2 separate regions of the Homo sapiens genome follow, and region 1 is linked to region 2. The links are contacts of gene promoters, found by promoter capture Hi-C in human tissues and cell types (Jung and others, 2019). All regions are on one chromosome and are shown on one strand. Each heading gives the region's core, a stretch centred on a gene start or on the middle of the fragment in contact. The rest is flanking DNA. Distances are from core to core; before and after follow the strand shown.

The links. Contacts are between HindIII fragments. The study calls those that stand out against the background at their distance.
Region 1: the fragment with the promoter of SMDT1 here is called in contact with the fragment with the promoter of CCDC134 in region 2 in 1 of the 25 tissues and cell types used here (neural progenitor cells).

The regions. Positions count from the first base shown.
Region 1 is chr22:42,076,823-42,083,268 of GRCh38, forward strand. SMDT1 (single-pass membrane protein with aspartate rich tail 1) reads left to right here and starts at 2,878. Exons shown (of 3, transcript NM_033318.5): 1 at 2,878-3,132; 2 at 5,103-5,243; 3 at 6,297-6,446. The coding sequence starts at 2,947. The coding sequence ends at 5,240. PHETA2 (PH domain containing endocytic trafficking adaptor 2) reads left to right here. Exons shown (of 3, transcript NM_001002034.3): 3 at 458-2,616. The coding sequence starts at 472. The coding sequence ends at 1,251. RefSeq lists enhancers at 820-1,382, 2,623-3,395 and a silencer at 2,303-2,597. The HindIII fragment of the contact is 9,212 bases long and covers 1,717-6,446 here.
Region 2 is chr22:41,796,056-41,803,427 of GRCh38, forward strand. It overlaps CCDC134 (coiled-coil domain containing 134), which reads left to right and starts at 4,624. Exons shown (of 7, transcript NM_024821.5): 1 at 4,624-4,711. MEI1 (meiotic double-stranded break formation protein 1) reads left to right here. Exons shown (of 31, transcript NM_152513.4): 31 at 3,199-3,399. The coding sequence ends at 3,244. RefSeq lists enhancers at 3,445-4,431, 4,207-4,286, 4,357-4,436 and silencers at 3,907-3,996, 4,587-4,646. The HindIII fragment of the contact is 18,239 bases long and covers 2,690-7,372 here.

The DNA of each region.
Region 1 (6,446 bases), core at 1,628-4,127, 280 kb after region 2:
AATAAGAGGCCAGTAGAGGCCCAGGAGGGTCATGGAAACCCTGGAAGCTTGGCCTCAGAGTTGGAGTTGAGAGGACCCCAGATGAGGGGATAGTTTAAGCACAGTGGTTTCGATGGGTCTGGGGTCCATTTCAGCTCAGCTGGGGCCTGTTTCTTTGGATTTTAGAAAGCCGTGCCCAGGTCCTGCCATGCCTCCTGTCTGATGCAATCTCGTTATTCTTTTCTCGAAGTCCGCCAGTGTCCAGTTTTTTTTGCATGATCCTCACGACATCCCTTTGAGAGAAAAGGAAGGAAAGACGAGCCCACTTCTCAGGAGACTTTAGGGACCTTAGGGACACAGCAAGCGAGTAGGAGTCCCAGGGCTGGGGTCCAGGTTGCCTCTGGAGCCGGTGCTGTTCCCCAGGAGGGCACGGAACCACCTCCCTCTCTGATCTGCTGCCATCTCTCTTGCCTCACAGTTCCCGTGGGAGCCATGAAGCTGAACGAGAGGAGTGTAGCCCACTATGCACTCAGCGACTCCCCAGCGGACCACATGGGCTTCCTGCGCACCTGGGGGGGCCCAGGGACCCCACCGACCCCCAGTGGCACTGGCCGAAGATGCTGGTTTGTCCTCAAGGGCAACCTGCTATTCTCCTTTGAGAGTCGCGAGGGCCGGGCCCCACTGAGCCTGGTGGTGCTGGAAGGCTGCACAGTGGAACTGGCCGAGGCTCCCGTGCCCGAGGAGTTTGCCTTTGCCATCTGCTTTGATGCCCCTGGAGTGCGCCCACACCTGCTGGCCGCAGAAGGGCCGGCGGCCCAGGAGGCCTGGGTGAAGGTGCTGTCCCGGGCAAGCTTTGGCTACATGCGCCTGGTGGTACGCGAGTTGGAGAGCCAGTTGCAGGACGCACGCCAGAGCCTGGCTTTGCAACGCCGCTCATCCTGGAAGTCTGTTGCCAGCCGCTGTAAGCCCCAGGCTCCTAACCACCGAGCTGCGGGCCTGGAGAATGGCCACTGCCTCTCCAAGGACAGCAGCCCTGTGGGCTTGGTTGAAGAAGCGGGCAGCAGGTCTGCAGGGTGGGGGTTGGCTGAGTGGGAGCTGCAGGGCCCTGCCAGCCTCCTCCTAGGCAAGGGGCAGAGCCCTGTGTCCCCTGAGACCTCCTGCTTCTCTACCCTGCATGACTGGTATGGCCAGGAGATCGTGGAGCTGCGGCAGTGTTGGCAGAAGAGGGCCCAGGGGAGCCACTCAAAATGTGAGGAACAGGATAGGCCCTAAGTCTGGGCCCTTTGAGTCAGGAAACCAGGGCCAGTTCTTTTTCAGGAGTTAAATGTTTACCCATTTCCAAGGTTGCGTTTTGGGAGGGGACATGGGTTCTCTCCTTCCTGCTATTTAGGCATTCTCCAGGTTCGAGATCCACCCGTGTGTCTGGAAGGGACTGCGGGACCATTCCTTCCATCCTCTTTATTTCCTGAGGTCCAGAGAAGGAAGGAGACTTAGCAGCCACAGAGCAAGACCCCAATCTCCTGACTGCACTGGCCTGACTGCCCCCTCCCAGGGGATGTTAATGAAATGAAGGAAGTGGGGAATGTCACCCGAGACTGTCACAGGCTTGCCATACCTTTGGCCTACACACCGGGCTCTAGAGCCATAATTTCCAACCTGGGGAGTCTCCTGTGCACTTAAATCCGAGGTAGGCTGCAGTATCGGCTTGAAGCTCTGACACTGTCAGAGAAAGTGGATTTATTGTGTCATAGGAGTTTCTGGGACCCAGCTCTTCCTGAGAGGGGTGGGAAGATTGGGGATGGGATCCTCACTCAGCAGTCTGGGTAGGGCCCTTTGAGGCAGAGGGTCTTCGGCCAGTGAAGAGAGATTTATTCTGCTCAGAGTGCTGGGGTCCCATCCTTTCTCCCTGGCTGCCCTGTTAACAGATGGTGCTGGACCTTGCCCCGGAAGGGGCTTGTAGCTTTTTTACGTCAACGAAATGCCCTCCTGTACTCTGTCTTCAGCAGCCAACTCCTGGAGCTGCCAAGTGAGGGGTTAAAGAAGAGGTGGGGAGGCAGTGTGGCTCCCTGGGAAAAGTCTGTTGCTTTGGTTCTCAGTCCTGGGTATTCTAGGAGCTTGGACACGGGATTGCGTTTCCTGTGCTAAAATTCTCTCTCCTGGCTGGGCTCCGGTAAACTGAAGCTGCTCGAGAAATCACCTGGGAACTCTCATAGCCGTTTGTCACCCAGGGTGTACTTGCCAGGACCTCTCCTTGCTACTCTTCCCAAAGTCGGGAGGCAAAGCGGCTGGGTCACCAGAGCCTGACCATACTGACGCTCCAGGGGGAAGACGCAGAGGCCGGGAAGAGACACCCCCTCCCAAACACATAAAACTTGCCCCTTCCTAGCCTCGGCTCCCCTCACTGGGGCCTTGGGCAGGACCGACCCGCATCCAACTAGGCCTAAGGGGTAGGCTCTGAGCCTCTTACCCCTAAGAGGCGGAGATGCGCCCAAGGCGGGCGCCCGGCCTGTTCCCCAGCCCTGCCTGGAAGCCCCGCAGCCACTGCATTTTGTTTAAACACAGATAGCACGGGCCTTTCTCTTATTGCTACAGTGTTTTGTACACGGTTAAAACACTAGTAAAGCTTTTTCGTTATTACTCCTTCCGCTCCCTGGGTTTATTTCCACAACCGGCCGCTGAGGCCTGTTCTGACGGCCGGGCGGACCCAAGACCGCGGCCACGCCCAGCAGGACGCGGACTGAGGGAGCCGGGGCTGCGCCGCCACTCTCGTGACGCCACCATGCCGGCCAGTGACAAACACCTCCCTCCCGCCGCCCCAGGAGCCGCCGGCACTGCGCGAGTGGGAGGGCTGGGCTTCTCGTGTACTCCTCAAACTCTCGCGAGGCTTCGGGCGGCTTTCTTCCCGAGGGCGGCACGAGGGCTGGGCGGTGGGGTGCGGGTGCCCGGGTGAGGGGCGGAGCTGGGGGCATGGCGTCCGGAGCGGCTCGCTGGCTAGTATTGGCACCCGTCAGGTCCGGGGCTCTCCGGAGCGGGCCTAGCTTGAGGAAAGATGGCGATGTCTCCGCCGCATGGAGCGGCTCAGGCCGGAGCCTGGTACCGTCGAGGTCAGTCATCGTTACCCGCAGCGGCGCCATTTTGCCCAAACCGGTGAAAGTGAGTGTCCTCCTGGAGACGGGGCGAAGGGGCTGAGGCCAATCATTGTGGGGAGTGCGTGAGGGCGGCGCTGATTGATAGGAGCCAAGGCCAATCATAACGATTACCGTAGACTGGAAGGCGGACCAAGAATACGCTAATGAGTTGCTAATTTTGACAGGTGTGTAGAAAATGGTAGGTAGACAGAAGATGGGGGGCAAACGCTGAGGAAGTTGGCCTTTTACATTAGCTTGTCCTGAGAGGTGCGGTGCTCTGCTCCTCTGGAGTCAGAAGACTAGGCCGTGTGCTTCTAGCTTAGAGCAGTCCTGTAATCTCTGCCCTGCCTGTCTCCTAGTTTATGGGATGAAATATGAATTTTGAAAGGACTCTGTAAATAAAGGGTACGTGGGACGGGCCTCATCTTTTTATTAGTTGTCACCTAATATTTAATTCATGTGATTTACAGTCCTGATAGATGTGCAGGGAATTATTACAATCACGGGTTTTCAAATGAAGAATCGGGCTAGAGCGGTGAAGCTCGTATCCAAGGCCAGCGCTGAGGACGCAGCATCCGGGTTTCTTCCTGGTACCGTCCCCACCAGGTCCTGTCTTTTTCCAACACTGAACGCTATCACATGCTTGAGTTTTTCTAGGGAAAACGGAAACAGTCCCTTATATCAAGCGAAAGTTTGCTTTACGACTGCAGGGCTGTGTGGTGTGGGAGTTAAAAAAACAAATTCTCTTAAAGCTAGTCTAGCCTATGCTAACTCACACAATTGACTGTAGGTCCATGTTGGGAAAGACCTGCCTTATCAAAACAGTTGAAAAAAAAATTTTTTTAATTCTAGGAATACGAGAGAAATGTTGCTGAGATTTTACTGACATTCTCCCAATCCATCTAAAGTCTTTGAGTGTAAATACATGCCCACTTTCAAATACATCTGTTTCTAAAATTTTTAAATCAAATTTCTCAGGCATCAGGGAACCTGTTACTTAGTGAACTGTGTAGAATATCCCTTCACTGTACATCTTTCTGTCATCGGTTTTCGTGTATTTCGTGTTCAGGCAGAGCTCACCGTAGTCTGGCCCTCCTAGTACTGGTGCACCCGATTGCCTGTAGGGATTTAAAGTAATTAGCAGGCTGTGTCCTAACTTTAGATGTCTAGGGTGCCTTAGACTTTTCTTTCCAGTGGACTTTTCGTCCATTTTGATGGCCATAACAGTCACCTTATCTCCTTTTTTTTTTTTTTGAGACGGAGTCTCACTCTGTCACCCAGGCTGGAGTACAGTGGCACAATCTTGGCTCACTGCAGCCTCCGCCTCCCGGGTTCAAGTGATTCTTCTGCCTCAGCCTTCTGAGTAGCTGGGACTACAGGCATGTACCACCACACCCGGCTAATTTTTTGTATTTTTAGTAGAGACGGGGTTTCACTATGTTAGCCAGGCTGATTTCGAACTTCTGACCTCGTGATCCGCCCGCCTCAGCCTCCCAAAGTGCTGGGATTACAGGTGTGAGCCACTGCGCCCGGCCTTTTGTCTTTTTTTTAGACAGAGCCTCACTCTGTCTCCCAGGCTGGAGTGGAATGGTGCAATCTTGGCTCACTGCAACTTCTGCCTCCTGGATTCAAGCAATTATCCTGCCTCAGCCTCCCGAGTAGCTGGGATTACAGGTGCGCACCACCATGCTGGGTCAATTTTTTGTATTTTTAGTAGAGACGGGATTTCACCATGTTGGCCAGGCTGGTCTCAAGCTCCTGACCTCAGGTGGTCCACCCACCTCAGCCTCCCAAAGTGCTGGGATTAAAGGTGTGAGCCACCCTGCCTGGCCTTCTCCTTTTCTAATTACTTTTCTTGCCCTGAATTTTTCCAAGGACTTTAAAATCAAGTTGCTTATGATGGGTCTGAGGGTATGTCTGTGAGAGGGCCAGGTCTTCTTTGGTCCTGCCAGAGTGGGCTCTGGAGCTCACAGCTGCCACTCTGACCCTCTGCAGATGTCCTTCGGCCTTCTCCGTGTGTTCTCCATTGTGATCCCCTTTCTCTATGTCGGGACACTCATTAGCAAGAACTTTGCTGCTCTACTTGAGGAACATGACATTTTTGTTCCAGAGGATGATGATGATGATGACTAACAGGTAAGACTTGCTTTACCCTAGATGGAGCAGGAAGCAGGGTGGAGCATCTGTCTGTGATGCAGTCTGGCCTGGTAGCAGCATTTGGACACTGGGGGCAGAAGCATTAATGAATTGGCCCACTTGGTGGCTAATGTTTTCGTTTGTTTGTTTTTTGAGACGGAGTTTCGCTCTTGTTGCCCAGGCTGGAGTGCAATGGCATGATCTCGACTCACTGCAACCTCTGCCTTCCAGGTTCAAGCGATTCTCCTGCCTCAGCCTACCGGGTAGCTGGGATTACAGACATGCGCCACTGTGCCTGGCTAATTTTGTATTTTTAGTAGAGACGGGGTTTCTCCATGTTAGCCAGGCTAGTCTCAAACTCCCGACCTCAGGTGATCCACCCACCTTGGCCTCCCAAAGTGCTGTGATTACAGGCGTGAGCCACTGCGCCCAGCCAACTTCATGTGCTCTAATATGTGCTGCATGGCATTCTGTCAAGAGATGAGGACACTCCTGTTCCTTAGCCTGGCATTCAAGGCTTGCCATAATCTGGTCACACCTCTTATTCCAGTCTCATCTTCCATATTTCCAGCCACACACCGATTCCCAGTATTCACCATTTCTTGAGTTTTCACACTCATACCCACCCCCAAACATTGGCTCATTGTTCCTCCCACATGGAAGGCTCCTTCCCAGAGCTCTGGGTCTTAATTCCACCCATTCTACAGTGTCTTTGAAGTCTTCGTTCCTCCTTTCATTTGAAAGTTGACGGCTCCTTCCTCTAAGCAACCAGTACCTCTCTTCAAATACTCGGTATTATGTGGCTAAACACACACAAAGCAAAATTTTACTAGACTCTGAGCTTCTTGCTGGCAGGGGACGTTTTTTATACATTGCGGCCCCCAGTGCCTGGCCTGTGGTGAATGCCCAGTTAACGTGCGCATGAACAACCAAACGTGCTCAAAGCTGCCTTTCTCCTGCCATGTTTGATAGAAGCACTTTGTGGAATTCTTTCAGTCTGCGGATGGAAGACTACGCTGTTGCCCAGTTCACTGCTGCTTTCCTTTCTTACAGGAATTACAGAAAGGAGAAAGCACTAACTGAAGAAATGGTGATGCTCTCAGTTTCTCTGCCTTCCCTATCAGCAGAAAGGCTCGGGGAAGGCCCTCAGCCTCCCAGTCTGGTGAAGCTTCCTGTATGGTCCATGACCGTATTCCACCCCAG
Region 2 (7,372 bases), core at 3,374-5,873:
GGACCTAGGTGCACTAGTCTTCTAAAGTAAGCAGGGGTCAATTAACAGTGTTGACAACAACAATGCCGTGTCCTGTTAATATTAAGTTCCTACAGAAAGCAGGCACATTACATGCATTTTACATATATATATATTTATTTATTCATTTTTGAGATGGAGTCTTGCTCCGTCGCCCAGGCTGGAGTGCAGTGGCACGATCTTGGCTCACTGTAACCTCCGCCTCCCAGGCTCAAGCGATTCTCCTGCCTCAGCCTCCCGAGTAGCTGGGACTACAGGTGCCTGCCACCACGCCCAGGTTTTTTTTTTTTTTTTCTATTTTTAGTAGAGACAGGGTTTCACCATATTGGACAGGCTGGTCTCGAACTCCTGACCTTGCGATCTGCCCCCCTCGGCCTCCCAAAGTGCTGGGATTACAGGCATGAGCCACCATGCCCGGCTACATGCATTATATTTAATCCTCACATCAGCTAGGAGTGTTAAGGTACTTGTAGTACAGGTTGAGCATCCCTAATACAAAAATTAGAAATCCAAAGTGCTCCAAAATCTGAAACTTTTTGAGTGCTGATGTGATGCTACAGGTGGAAAATTCCATACCTGACTTCACATGATGAGTTGCAGTCAAAATGTAGCCAAAACTTTGTTTCATGAATAGGCCAAGTGCGGTGGCTCACGCCTGAGGCCAGGAGTTTGAGACCAGTCTGGCCAACATGGTGAAACCTCATCTCTATGAAAAATACCAAAATTAGCTGGGTGTGGTGGCATGTGCCTGTAGTCCTAGCTACTCGGGAGGCTGAGGCACAAGAATCGCTTGAATCGGGGATGCGGAGGGCAGTGAGCCAAGATCACACCACTGTACTGCACCCTGGGCGACAAAACATGACTCTGTCCCAGAAAAAAAACAAAAAATTTTGTTTCATGAATAAAATTATATTTTTTACATTCTTTTTATTTATTTTTTTTAAGACAGTGTCTTGCTTTGTCACCCAGGCTGGAGTGCACTGGTGTGAACATAGCTCACTGTAGCCTTCACCTCCTGGGCCCAAGGGATCCTCCCGCCTCAGCCCTCCGAGTAGCTGAGACTACAGGTGCACACCAGCATGCCTGGCTAATTTTTGTAGATACAGGGTTTCACCATGTTGCCCAGGCTTGTCTCAAACTCCTGAGCTCAGGTGATCTGCCTGCCTTGGCCTCCCAAGTGCTGGGATTACAGGCATGAGCCACTGTGCCTGGCCCATGAACAAAATTATTTAAAACTGCATAAAATTACCTTCAGGTGGCCAGACGCGTGGCTCACGCCTGTAATCCTAGCACTTTGGGAGGCCAAGGTGGGTGGATCATCTGAGGTCAGGAGTTCAAGACCAGCCTGGCCAACATGGTGAAACCCTGTCTCTACTAAAAATACAAAAATTAGTCGGCTGTGGTGGCACACGTCTGTGATCCCAGCTACTTAGGAGGTTGAGACAGGAGAACTGCTTGAACTTGGGCGGCAGAGGTTGCAGTCAGCTAAGATTGCACCACTGCACTCCAGCCAGGGCGACAGAGCAAGACTCCGTCTCAAAAAAATAAAAAATTACCTTCTGGCTATGTGTACAAGGTGTATATAAAACAAATGAATTTTGTGTTTAGACTTGGGTCCCATCCCCAACATATCTCATTATTATAGGCAAATATTACAAAATTCGAAAAAAAATCTGAAATACAAAACACTTCTGGTCCCAAGAATTTTGGATAAGGGATACTCAACCTGTACCTACCTCCTAGGGTTGTAGCAAGGACTTAAATGAGTTAATATATGTAAAGCACCAAAAACAGCTCCTGGCTTGGTGTGAATGTTATATTGGTGTCTGTTATTATTCCTACTCCCTTTCCAAATAACGAAACTGAGGCCAGAGACATTCAGTCGTGCCCAGAATCACAGAGCTAGTGATACAATCAGGATTTGACCTCAGATTTGCCTGTCTCCAAAGCTACATCACCGAACTCAGAAAGGAGCTAGTCCTTCCCCCATGAGCTTTGGAGACAGTTGTCCAAGCGCAGTTGGTTCAAGTGATCCTCAGCCCAACACACACACACACACACACACACACACACACACACACACACACACACACACACATAGTGTGTGTCTCTGTGACTGCCATGTTCTTAAGAAAGCTTGGATGGCCAGGTGCACACACACACACACACACACAATGTGTGTGTGTCTGTGTGACTTCCATGTTCTTAAGAAAGCTTGGATGGCCGGGTGCAGTGGCTCACGCCTGTAATCCCAGCACTTTGGGAGGCCAAGGTGGGCAGATCACCTGAGCTCAGGAGTTTGAGACCAGCCTGGCCAACATGGTGAAACCCCATCTCTACTAAAAAATACAAAAATTAGCTGGGCGTGGTAGCATGAGCCTGTAATCCCAGCTACCCAGGAGGCTGAGGCAGGAGAATCACTGGAACCTGGGAGGCAGAGGCTGCAGTGAGCCAAGATCGCGCCACTGTACTCCAGCCTGGGCAACAGACCAAGACTCCGTCTCAAAAAAAAAGAAAGCTTGGGGGCCGGGCGCAGTGGCTCACACTGTAATCCCAGCCAAGGTGAGTGGATCACTTGAGGTCAGGAGTTCTGAGACGAGCCTGGCCTACATGGTAAAACCCCATCTCTACTAAAAATACAAAAATTAGCCGGGCATGGTGGTGCATGCCTGTAATCCAAGCTACTTGGGAGGATGAGGCAGGACAATCACTTGAACCTGGGAGGTGGAGATTGCAGTGACCAGAGAGCCGAGATTGTGCCACTGCACACTCCAGCCTGGGTGGCAGAGTGAGACTATGTCTCAAAAAAAAAAAAAAAAAGCAAGCTTGGGGCTGTGGCAGTGGTCAGAGACCCTCTGGTAGGTGGCTGGTTGCACCCAGAGACACTGCAGTCCAGAGATACTGCAGTCCAGAGGTGTGTGTGAGGGTAGTTTGCTTCCTCTGCACCCCTCTGGCTGCCTCCCTGGCTCTCTTCCTTGCCCCTTCCGTGCAATAGTTCCCTGTTGAATAGCAACTACCTAGCCCAGGTGTTCAGGACCCAATTTCAGAATCCATCCCACTATTCTCAGGAGCACTTCTGTTCTTGCCTGACCATTCTTGACTGTTTTGGGCTCTGGAAGTGTGATGCCCCCATGGTTGGCCCCACTTCTCTGCTGTTTTCCTCTCATGTTTTGCTGCCAGCTGCCTGGGAGGGGTGGCTGTATCCCTGTCCCACATCAGAAACTGATCCTCAGGACTTGAAGGCCCAGAAGTGGAGAGAGAATGAGACCTGGAGACAAAGGGCATAATTGTTGGGGAAATGGATGACAGCTGAAGCTATTCATATGGAGCCATATACTCTATTGTTGAAATAGAATAAGGAAATAAAATGATACACTCACATACCTGCGCGAGCTCTCCAAAAACACTGTACTACCTTGTCTACCAGGAGCTGGTTTCTCAGCCAGTTGGATAAGGGATTGTTTCAGCAAGGAGACTGATGGCCTCCTCAGGGAAGGAGGGACGGGACAGGATTTGTTCTTGTAACAGCATTCAAGGAGTCAGCTGGGTGCCTCAGCTGTACTCAGAGAACACCAGTCAGGCCATCCTGGGGCTGGCAGGGCAGAGAAAGGCCTAGGGGTTGGGGCTGCTGCGATTCAACAGCTCCCAGAGGCACTTGACCTGCTCCCTCGCCTCACGTGGAGGTGGATAGAGGTAAACTTTCCAGGCAAGGAGGGTCAAATTCTCAGCTTTCCTATCAGAACGAAACTGTCCCAGCCTCAGCCCTTGTCTGGCTAAAGTAGGTCACCTCTGTCCCTTCCCGTACAGCCGTCATCAGAACTGGTGTTTATGCACCCTCGTGGGTAGATCCTGGGAATGCATGTCCAGCTTGGTCCCCGGCATGAGGTCTGCGCTCGACAGTGCCTGCCCTGCGCCTGTTCTGGGGAGCTCAGCCCAGACCGGGCCTCCAGCTCCCTTCCCGCCCGGCAGGGGCCCCGGGCCCGGAGATGGCCACGCCACGCTGCCTTCTCGGGTCTGACTGTCCTGATCCTGCGCAAAAGTGGGGCTGCACTCGGCCTAACGAACGGACGAGGAAGCCCCCGCCGCACTTGGCTTATTAGTTGGTGGACCGGAGGGGCAAGGAGGGGATGCCCGAATCCTGCACTGAGTCTCTGAGGTCCTTAAAGAAGAACAAAAGTGCTAGTCACCGCCCACTAAACTCACGTTGCGATCTAAAGTTTAAAAACTCGGCCACAGACGACGACACAGTTTCAGGGAGGGCGCGCAGAAGGTCGCCCGGCCGACAGGAGCTGGGACCCCAGTTTGCTGATTCACGCCTTAAATTGGGCACAGACCCCACCCACAGATTTAACTTCCTCCAACACAAGCTAAATCCAGGGCCACGTACCCAGGGCCCGCAGGAGGGACAGGACGAGGATGGTGCCCACAGCGCGCTGGAGGCACGCCAGAGCCTGGAGGGGCAGGCAGGGGCGGTGGAGCGGGGCCGGAAGTGAGGCTAGCGGAGCCCCGCAGTGGCGGCTCGCGCTCATTGGCCGGGAGCAGCGCGGTGGGCGGGACGGAGCTCGGCGGTCTGCGCTCGGTTGCTAGCCGTTTGCTCCCGCTTTCAGTTGCTTTGCTGTTAGCCTGTTGGACCTTCGAGCCTAGCTGCTCGCACAGGACTCGGCCACCTGCCCTTCCTGCACCGACTGGCCAGGTAGGTGGCTGTAGGGGCCGCGGGCTGCAGGTTCCCGGGAAGGATAATGAGAGAACCGAGGGCCTCGAACCGGCTGCAGGTGGTGGGGAGGGAGTTTCGTGGACCTGGACGCCTCTGTTCCTTGAGAAGGCTCGCTCCCTCCTCCGGGAGCTCCGAAGGCTCGGGGTCAACCACCTGGGCCCCCGACCCCGGTAGCTGGCTCAAGGCCCGCCACTACCTGGTACCTCTGCAGGAGTTCAGAGCCTCATGCTGAGCCAGGAGGAGCTCCGGGTGACGCATACGGCAGGATCGGGATTGAGAGGCTGAAAAAGTGAGTTTAACAGTAGAGAAAGCAGGACCTGTCCCGCAGGCTGCTGTTCTGGCTTTTCTTTCCCACTACCTGCTTCAGTCATTGCCAGCTGTCTGGTATTCTCCTTGGCCCCTAAAGTTTTGCCCTAGCCTGGTTCTGGTTCCCTTGAGTTTGGAGCAGGAGGTGGAATGTGGAGGGTCCTGGGTGAACTTGGACTATTCCTTCTCTAGGTTTCACTTATCTCGTCTGCTTGGGGGTAGGGGGTTCTCCGGATGATCTCTGCAGCCCCTCACTGTCTGTAACTGAGCATCTCTCCCCTGGGGCAGGTGTCCTGGTAGTTCAGTAGCCAGCTCTGATCTCAGGTAGCCTGTGCTCATTTACAAAGAGTCAGAAGACAGAGCACTGGACTTAGAGCCAAACAGACACTTGGTTCAGCCTGGGAATAGCTGTGTGACTTTGGGCAGTCACCTCATTTTTCTGTGCCTTGATTTCACATTGGTAACATTGGGGAGTTGTAATCTGAGTGTGAGACCTCTCCTGACCACTTTATGTAATCTTGTACCTGACCGACACCCTCTCATCCCTCTGTGCTTATTTTACAAGTTTATTGATCAACTCTTATCCCTACTAGAGACAAGTACCATGAGTGCAGAGATTTTTGCTTATTTATTGCTGTATTCCCGCCTCTAGAACAGTGCCTAGAGTGTGGTAGGTACTGTCAACCTAAATAGCAGAGTGAGAGACTCTAAAAAAATGATGTTTACTTGGGAATAGACATTGTAGTGACAATATGTGTGCCATAGTAACCTGTGTACGTATTTGGGGAGGTAAAGGAAGACAAAGGTTTTGAAAAGGAAAAATGAGGATTACATGATTATTTTGAGATAGTTATCCTTGGCTACAAGGATGAATAGCAAGAGTGGTGCTAGTCTGAGGTTGGACAGGCAGTTGCAGGGCAGATGTCCTCACAGAAAGATTTTTCTGTGTAAGTTTGCAGTGGCCTTTGTGCAGGGTTGTGGTTTTTGCATTTTTTGTGATCTTGTTATCAGTCATTTGTGCATAAGAACCCTCTTTTCACAACCTTCCTCGGTTTTATTTGTCAGAGTTGTTGTTCTTGTTTTTTCCCATTGGAGAATCATGCTTTAAATTTGTCAGAGTTTTTAACACAAACGACTCTGTTTTGATTCTAACAACTTTCATATTTCCCCCTTTTGGTCAAGATCTTTCTCCAAAAACTTTACTGATCAGTCATCCTGTAGTTAGGTCCCTCAGTGCTGGGACGGACCTATCTTGGGTTGTTGGTCTCTTGCCATGTTGGAGACTAGGAGTCTCCAGTTGGAGACTGGTGACTAGGAGTCAGTGTCAAAACCCTTGTAGTGGTTGGGAGCAGGGGCTCACGTCTGTAATCCCAGTACTTTGGGAGGTCAAGGAGGGAGTATCACTTGAGTCCAGAAGTTCAAGACCAGCCTGGGCAACCGCCAAGGCGGGCGGATCACCTGAGGTTGAGAGTTCGAGACCAGCCTGACCAACATGAAGAAACCCGTCTCTACTAAAATACAAAAATATATATAAATAACATCCGGGCGCGGTGGCTCACACCTGTAATCCCAGCGCTTTGGGAGGCCGAGGCAGGCGGATCATGAGGTGAGGAGATCGAGACCATCCTGGCTAACACGGTGAAACCCCATCTCAACTAAAAATACAAAAAATTAGCCGGGCGTGGTGGCAGGTGCCTGTAGTCCCAGCTACTTGGGAGGCTGAGGCAGGAGAATGGCGTGAACCCAGGAGGCAGAGCTTGCAGTGAACCGAGATCGCACCACTGCACTCCAGCCTGGGCGACAGAGCAAGACTCTGTCTCAAAAAAATAAAAAATAAAAAAATAAAAAATAAATAAAATAAAATACAAAAATTAGCCGGGCGTGGTGGCACATGCCTGTAATCCCAGCTACTAGGGAGGCTGAGGCAGGAGAATCGCTTGAACCTGGGAAGTGGAGGTTGCGGTGAGCCGAGATCGCACCATTGCACTCCAGCCTGGGCAACAAGAGCGAAACTCCGTCTCAAAAAAAAAAAGTTATCTGGGCATTGGTTGGGGAGTGTGCGGGAGTCAGTTGGGTAGAGGATCACTTAAGCCCAGGAGTTTCAGGTTATAGGGAGCTATGATTGTACCGCTGCACTCCAGCGTGGGTGACAGAGCGAGACCCTGCCTCAAAAAACCCCAAATACCTTTTAGCCACATTTGAGCAGCAAGGGAGGTTTGGAAGGAGTGGCTCTCAAGGTATGTCTACCTGGAGTTCATTGTTAAGTTCAATTTTGGCTGTTCCATAGGCATTTGCTGTCATTGCAAACTTCTGGGCCAGCATTATTCTGTCAGG